2 separate regions of the Homo sapiens genome follow, and region 1 is linked to region 2. Evidence: promoter capture Hi-C in human tissues and cell types (Jung and others, 2019). All regions are on one chromosome and are shown on one strand. Each heading gives the region's core, a stretch centred on a gene start or on the middle of the fragment in contact. The rest is flanking DNA. Distances are from core to core; before and after follow the strand shown.

Evidence for each region. Contacts are between HindIII fragments. The study calls those that stand out against the background at their distance.
Region 1: a contact is called between a fragment that was not itself captured here and the fragment with the promoter of CAMKK1 in region 2, in 1 of the 25 tissues and cell types used here (pancreas).

What each region holds. Positions count from the first base shown.
Region 1 is chr17:2,865,997-2,869,953 of GRCh38, reverse strand. The region is part of intron 2 of RAP1GAP2 (RAP1 GTPase activating protein 2); the gene reads right to left. Among named protein-coding and RNA genes, the nearest start is that of RAP1GAP2, 72 kb to the right of the region's middle. The HindIII fragment of the contact is 4,532 bases long and covers 113-3,957 here.
Region 2 is chr17:3,891,128-3,895,454 of GRCh38, reverse strand. It overlaps CAMKK1 (calcium/calmodulin dependent protein kinase kinase 1), which reads left to right and starts at 2,402. Exons shown (of 16, transcript NM_032294.3): 1 at 2,402-2,516. RefSeq lists silencers at 1,956-2,495, 2,526-2,705, 2,846-3,095. The HindIII fragment of the contact is 23,333 bases long and covers 1-4,327 here.

The sequences.
Region 1 (3,957 bases), core at 1,129-3,628, 1.0 Mb after region 2:
ACATTGTGGTCACAAAACTCAAGCCCTCCACTCACGTGGCCCGGAGCCACGTTCCACCTGGGCCACTTGCTGACCCCCTATACGTCCCCGCTCACCAGATCAGCCTCCTAGGAGAGCGCCACAGGGTGCTGGCTGACGGCTGGCCATGAGCCCAAGACTGCAGGAAAGGGAAATGTCAGGATGAGAAGGGAGCTCGCAGAAGGTGGCCCAGCGCTGCCCGCACCTGCTCCCGGGACCTGACCTTCCCCAGCAACACGTGACCCTCAGTGGGGGTGTGAGCTTGGGCAGGACAGAGCCCTGAGGGACCTTCAACTTCAGAACGTGGGCTGTTGGGGAAGGGAGGGCTGCTGCTTCCCTGGAGTCCCCAAGGCACTTTGGTTCCCAACTCAGCTGAGCATTCACAGAGACCAGGCGAGAACCACCAGCCAGCCCACCCCATCTTCAACCAGAGGAACGCTTTTTCTATTGTACATATTAAGGTTTTGCATAAAGTTTGTTTAGGTTTTTTTTTTTTCATCATTTTACCCCTTTTTAAGTTTGCAATTCAGTGGCATTTACATCGTTGTACAACTAACCCCATTGTCCATTTCCAGAACTTTATCATCATCCCGAACAGGAACTTTGTACACATTCAACAAAAATTCTCTTTCCCTCCAACACCTGGCAACCTCTATTCTACTTTCTGCCCCTAGGAATTTGCCTATTCTAGGTGCCTCATATAAGCATACTATACACTATAAGAGTAGATAGACTATAGACTATATTTGTGCACCCCTTAAAATTTCTGTGTTGAAATCCTAACTAACACTGCCGTGGTATGAGGAAGAGGGGCCTTTGGGAGGTGATTGGGTCAGGAGGAGTGAAGCCCTCATGAATGGAATCAGTGCCTTGGAAAAGAGGCCCCTGAGAGCTCCCTTGCCCCTTCGCTATGTGAGAACATGGCGAGAAGACGGTTGTCTGTGATGCAGGATTTGAGCCCTCATGAGACACCCCATCTGCCAGTACCCTGAACTTGGACTTTCCAGCTTCCAGAAGTGGGAGAAGTAAATGTTGGTTTAAGCCACTCAGTCTATGGTATTTTGTGATAGCAGCTCAAACAGACACAGACAAAGTGGAATTAAACACTATCTGTTCTGGCCGGGCACAGTGGCTCACACCTGTAATCCCAGAATTTTGGGAGGCCAAGGCAGGCAGATCACCTGAGGTCAGGAGTTCGAGACCAGCCTGGCCAACATGGTGAGACCCTGTCTCTACTAAAAAATACAGAAATTAGACAGGCGTAGTGGCACATGCCTGTAATCCCAGCTACTCGAGAGGCTGAGGCAAGAGAATAGCTTGAACCTGGGAGGTGGAGCTTGCACTGAGCTGAGATCGTGCCACTGCACTCCAGCCTGGGTGACAGAGCAAGACTCCATCTCAAAAAAAAAAAAAAAAAAATTGCACCTGGTAGAGGAATTGCTAAATAAGATTTTTGCCTACACACATAAAAGACTTTCATTAGTCTTAGTCGCATTTCACACATGGGAAAGCCAAGGGCCGCAGTTTCGACACCATGTACGTTCAAGATCATATATCCCCCTGGGTTTTTCCTGAGGCCGCTCCTCTGCCCTTCTGCAGTCGTGTTTTTGCCATCTAGAGGTGCCTATCTCTAAGACCTCTGAGACTTCCTCTGGGCCTGGCCCTCCACCAGGGGGATGGATAGCAGAGAGCCAGCCCTTCTCTCAGCCAGGGCCTCGTAACCAAAAGCATCCACTGGCCAGACGTCTGGAAGGAGGGGCAATCTGTATTCAAGGAATCCGGACCTGCTGGGGTGGAGGGCAGCTGGGTGCCACAAAGCATAAGCAAAACAGGAAGGGGACACATTATCCAATCCCAGAGCCGAGAGCCAACCCCGAGCAAAGCCAGGCTGTCCTCTCAGACCAGGTCCAGCGCGGTCACAGGCTGAATGCTTTGATGTTCAGAATGGACTCAGAGAAAAGACAGCCCAGGAAGTGTGTTTACTACCAAAGGCTTGGGGATCCCGCGAGCTGCATCCGTGAAGAAGAAAGCACACCTCATCCAGCCAAGGCAGAAGGAAGCCTCCTTGCGTCTGGGAGGGTACCAGCAGCTGCAGCCACCAGCCAAGTTGACAAGACCGTGCCAAGATCAGCATCAACTAAGCCACTAGGGCCAGCAGAGTGGACAGCTGTTGGCATTTTTACTGCCCAGCTTCCATCCCCTGAGCTTCTGAGAGCAACATGCCAGGTTTCCTTAGGTGACCCATCCCTCCTATACTCCCAGCCAAGTCCCTGCATCCCGGGAACCAGCGGTGGGCGTAAGACCTAGACTTCATGAATCAGTGTATCCCACCCCTCTGGCCAAAGTTCAGGGATGCGTATGTGACTCACTTTCTGTCCAGGGTGAGCCATCCCTGGGACATCTGCTGAAATGATTGGGAAACAGATTTGCTCTTCCTGTTGGTATTGCTAAGTGGGTAGAAGGTCAGCCCAGGGCAGCCATCGTCCATCTTCGTGGATAAGGTACCTGAGGACGAAGGCAACCCAAAGGAAGGCACAGCCTAGAGACGGGGTGAAAGAACCAGTGTCCAAAGACCCCACTGGAGCTCTCGATCCAGCCAGGCCTGAATCCGTCCCCCTTGAACCTTCCAGTTACCTAAACCCCAAAGCTTCATTTTTTCTTTACATTAATTTGAATTGGGGCTTGCCACTTCAAACCAAAAGTTTCTTGACTAAATCAGCTAAATGACCAATCAGAGGCCAGGCACGGTGGCTCACACCTGTAATCCCAGCACTTTGGGAGGCCAAGGTGAGGGGAATCACGACACCAGGAGTTCGAGACCAGCCTGGCCAACATGGTGAAACCCCGTCTCTACTACAAATACAAAAATTAGCTAGACATGACAGTGGGCACCTGTAATCCCAGCTACTTGGGAGAATGAGGCAGAAGAATCATTCGAACCTGAGAGGTGGAGGTTGCAGTGAGCCGAGATTGTACCACTGCACTCCAGCCTGGGTGACAGAGTGAGACTCCATCTCTAAAATAAAAAATAAAATAGGCCGAGTGCAGTGGCTCACACCTGTAATCCCAGCACTTTGGGAGGCCAAGACAGGCAGATCGCTTGAGGCCAGGAGTTCGAGACCAGCCCGGCCAACGTGGTGAAACCCCATCTCTACTAAAAACATAAAAATTAGCCGGACCTGGTGGCGGACACCTGTAATCCCAGCTACTCGGGAGGCTGAGACAGGAGAATCGCTTGAACCCGGGAGGCGGAGGCTGCAGTGAGCCGAGATCGCACCACTGCACTCCAGCCTGGCGACAGAGGGAGATGCTGCCTCAAAAAATAATAAAATAAAATAAATAAATAAAATAAATTACCAATCAGAAGGGACATTTGGGGGTATTATCTACTGCCTCACCAACACAAAGGCCCTTGGGCCCCAAACCTCTATTTAATAAAAATCACAATAACACAAATGTTACAGAATTGTTTCATGTATAACACTGACTGACTCTGTTTTTGTATTCTAACTGGGGTACCAACTGCCCTGAGTCTAGGGGAGGCGGGGAGCAGGGAAGCCTCCCACAGCCTGACCTGCCCTTCTTTCCCCAGCATTCAACACCTAACACGAAATGGCCCCAGGCCGCCCTAACAGCCTCATCTCCCACGTTCCCCAGCAGGGAATCCACACCACAGCCAAGGTGGGATCTGAGCGGGCCCCTGTTTTTTTATCTTGGCCCCTTGTCTTCCACTGTCTCCTTTGGGGATGTGCTTCCCACTCCATCTCTCCCTTCAGACATCCTGTCCAGTCCCCGAGGCCCACTTCAAATGCCACCAACTCCAGGCAGCCTTCCTTGGGCGGTCCCCCTTTCTTCTGACCTCCAGGGCTCCCTGCACCTCTTCTCCACACCTCCCTCTTCTGTCTTGGATTCACATTCCATGGTTGATCTCTGCTTCAG
Region 2 (4,327 bases), core at 1,153-3,652:
CTTTCTGCCCCCTTCCCTTCCAAGTGAGCAGAAAAGGGTCCCTCCTCTGTATTCAGCCTCACCACCCAGCCCAGAGGCTGCCCAGCAGAAGCCACCTCCATTCTCCTACCCCTACATCTGTCCCCCTCTTCTGCCTCCTCCTGGCCCAGGTTCCCCAGCAGCTCTGCCCCTCTCCCCTCACTGCAACCCTTCCAGAAAGACCAGTCCACACTTCCCTCTGCAATTGGCCTCCACCCCAACCACTTCTCCTAGGTGCCCTTGCCAAGGTCACTGGCAGTGTCCTGGTTGCCAAGTCTTAAGCAGACACTTGGGCCCCATATCCTGCTTGGCCTGACAGCTTCTCACATTGTTGTCCAAGCCTTCCTTGTCGAAAGATTTCCTTCCAGCAGCTCCTAGGACACACCCTTTCCTGACTTCCCAGCCTGTCTGGCGTGCAAGGAAAAGACAGGTTTCAATTGCAGCTCTGCCACAGTTCACTGTGTGTCCTTGGGGGAAGTGGCTTAACTCTCCAAGCCTCCTCTGTGAGTCAAGGATAATAACAACTTCTTTTTTTTTTTTTTTTTAAATAGAGACAGAGTTTCACTATGTGGACCAGGCTGTTCTCAAACTCCTGGGCTCAAATGATACGCTCCACCTCAGCCTTCCAAAGGGCTGGGATTACCGGCATGAGCTACTGCACCCGGACAATAATAGCTTTTAGTAGGGTTGAGGAAAGACCTGTAAACAGCACCTGGCATACAGTCGAGCTCTGCCCCTCAATCTATCCACCCTCTCAATGGTGGAGTCCACTAGTTGTTCCGGATATCTGTTCTCCCGGTAGCAATTCAGTCCTTGGTTCTTGGTTGGGCATGTGGCTGCCCAGAATGGAAGCTGCATTTCCCAGCTTTCTCTTGCAGCTGGGTCTGGTCATGTTAAGTAAGCTCAAGCGGTGTATGTGAAAGTGCCACGTGGCAACTTCTGGGAACTTTCCTGAAAAGAGAGCTGGTGCAGACCCTCTGCCCTCTTCTTCATCCTTTTCTCCACTCCACTGCCTGGAATGCGTTATGTGATTGCTGGAGCTCTAGCTGGTATCCTGAACCATGAGGTCAAAAGCCACACTCAAGTTGCTGGAATTATTCATTCAACAACATCCACTGAGCACCTGTGCCATGCGACAGGCTGTGTGCTGGACGAATCAGGCACAGTGCTTGCCATCCAGGAGCTCCCAGTCCCAATGAGGAACCAGCAGGTAAACAGATGCCAGGTACAAGGAAGTACCTGGGTGGGGCCACTAACCCATGCTGGAAGTGGGGAGGTCATGGAGAAGGTTTCCAGGCAGAAGTAGGATTGAATTGAACCCTGAAAGACGAGTAGGCGTTAAACAGGCAGGTGGCTGGGAGTAAGGCTATACAGGGCTTGATTAGACCTATTCTCACGGTGAGCCATAGAAAATGCCTCTCGGTGGACTTGTGTTCCTGAAAACTTGCTCTGGGTGCCAGGGAGAGAAAGGCTAGTAGGAGGTGAGACTGGATGGGGCTGGAGGCCAGGGAGGAGGCTGCTGCAGCAATCAGGGACAAGATGGTGGTAGCCTGAGCTAAGGGAGGGGAAGTGGGGTGGAGAGGAGTGGGCCGATTCCAGGGATAGTTAAGAGGCAGTATGGCAGGGCCTGGAGATGGACTGGTTGGAGCAGGAAACAGGGAGGCAGCAGGTGACTCCCAGGCTCCTGGCTCCACTTCGAGACAGGGACGCAGGAGGTTAGATTTGGGGGAAGGATATGGGGCAAGTGGTGGTGCCAGAGGATTCACACGCGGAGGCGTTAGGGGAAGAGGTGGCGGCAGAGTCCCCAGGAACAGCCACAGCGAAGGTCACCTCACTGTCCTGCTGAGTTCCCTCTACTCCCTCGGCCCTCGCTAGGCCATTCCTGTCGCCGGCTCACCGAGCAAGCACTTCACTCTGTGCTAAGCCACCTCTCGGCCTCTCTGCCCCCGCCCCGCAGAAGCTACACTCCTGGGCCTGCCATTCAAGGCCTTCCTCCCCGGGCCTCGCCCCTCCCTCGCACGCACCGCGCCTCGCCCGGGAGGGAGGGGCGCTCTGGCTCCTGCAGGCCGGGATGGGGGCGCAAAGGGTTTGGCGGGGAAGCACGGTCCCCTGCAGGCCCAGGAGAAGGGCCCACGCCGCGGCCGGGAGGGACTTCGGGGACCCCAGGACGCCGGGGGCGTGGCGAGGTCGGCCCCGCCGCAGGGGAGGGAGGGCCCCTACCGCGCCGCCCACCGCGGTCCCTTAGTCCAGGAGGGGGCGGGAGTCCCGGGCTCCGATTGGGCGGCGCTGGCGGGGCCGTTCGCTCCGACCAATGAGCGCCGGCCGGGCGCGGCGGTGGGCGGGGCAGCGAGCGCTGCCCGGAGCCGCGGCGCCCGCGGGCTGAGCTCGGCGATCTGGGCCCCAGCGAGGCGGTGGGGCGGGGCGGGGCGGGGCGGGGCGCGCAGCAGGAGCGAGTGGGGCCGCCCGCCGGGCCGCGGACACTGTCGCCCGGCGCCCAGGTAGGGATCGGCGGGGCGGGGACGCGGGCGAGGAGCAGGAGGACGAACGCCTTAACACCTGCCCCGAGCCTGCAAGGGAGAGGCGGGGGGGGTCTGCCAGGCCGCGTCTACGAGGGAGCTGGGATCTGGTCAGGGCGGGGATCCTTCCCCTTCTGTCTGCGGGGCCGGGTCTGCGGGGTGCCTCGCGGAGTCTGCTCGGGTCTGCGCCGGCCGCCGGGACCGCATCGCCGCGGGTGCCCCGCCGTCTGCGTTCTTCCCCGCTTCTGTCTGCGGACCGCATCCATCCCCGGTGCACTGTCCCCCGCGCCCGGCTCCTGGTGGAGGCCACGTCTGTGCGGAGTGGGCCCGGCCCGGGGCACCCACGTGCGGTTCTCCGCGGAGCGCTCCTCCCACGGCCCGCCGGAGCGTCTTCCTGCAGGAGCCGGGGGCGGGGTGGGAGATGAATGGGGCGGCGGCGGCGCGCGGCTCAGGCTGCGCAGGGTCCTGCCTTGGCTGGGGCGAGAGGGGGCGGCAGAGGCGGGCGCTGCGGCTTCGGGGCCCGGGAGGCGCAGGGCTGGTGGCTGGGGGGGTGTCCACGTGCGCAGGGACCTGCGTGTGCTGTTTGGAGGCGGGTGTGCGTGTGTCACGTGGACGCGGGAGTGTGCCTGTGTCTGCGTGGGGGGTGCAGGACAGGATGGAGTGGTGTGTGAGGGCGGGTCACGCGGACACGGGCGTGTGCCTGTCAGGGGAGGGGGTGTGCTCAAGTCTTGGCGTTGCAGGGCTGTGCAGAGAAGGCTGTGTCACAGGCCACAGGACCGGGCCTTGGTGGTGTCCGCAGGGCGGGCACAGGAGTGTGGGAGGGGCACACAGCCTGTGCGCGCTGGAGGATCCCAGGGAAGTGGCGCTGGCCTCCCCAAGCCCTGCCCTCTTTCCTCCAGTACATACAAATTGACCCCCCACTGCGTCCCAGGCGCACACACTCTGGGGACCCTTCGCCTCTTCCTCGGTCTCCCACCGTCAGTCCTCACAGCAGCCATGGGAGTCGTTTTAAACCTCACCTAACCGAGGCACTCCCCTGCTCACAACCTCCCCCTGGCTTTGGGGGCCTCCTGGGCTCTGTCCACCAAGCTCTCCCCACCCCCAAACCAAGCCCGGAGTCCCAGCCAGGAAATGACTCTCCTATATGCACAGTGCAAACTTCCATCCTCGCCTCATCCTGAAATCCTGCTCAGTGCTCAGAAGAGAGCTCAGGTGCCACCTCCTCTAGGAAGCCATCCCTGAGGCCAGCACAATGAGTGAGGGGGCTTTCTCTCCAGATGTAACTCCTCTTGCTATCAGGTGCCTCTTATGTGGGGAAGACTCCACTCCAGCCACGTCAGCCTCCCTGCTGTTCTTCATACTGAGCAAGCACTGTCCCCTCATGGCGTTTGCACCTGCTGGTCCCTGCACCTGAAATGCTCTTCCCCAGATAACTACACTGCCTACTGCCCCTTCCTTCCTTCAGGTGTCTGCTCCAGTCCTGCTCCCAAAAGGCCTTCCTCAACTACACTGTATCAGCAGCATCTCCCAGCCCCTTTCTCTTGATCCTTCTTACTCGGCTGTATTTTTCTTCCTATATGTACCACTTGACATATCATATCTGAATCACTGGCTTTCTTGTTTGTTGCTTCTTGCCCCCACGAGAAATTAAACTGTATGAGAGCAGAGACTTGGTCTTTTTGGTTCACTGCTGTATCTCCCCACACAGGCTTGCACAGAGTCTGGCAGACAGCAGGTGCTCCGTGACTATTTGTGCTTGCATCCCAGGCGTCCATGTCCCTGGCTGCTCCCTA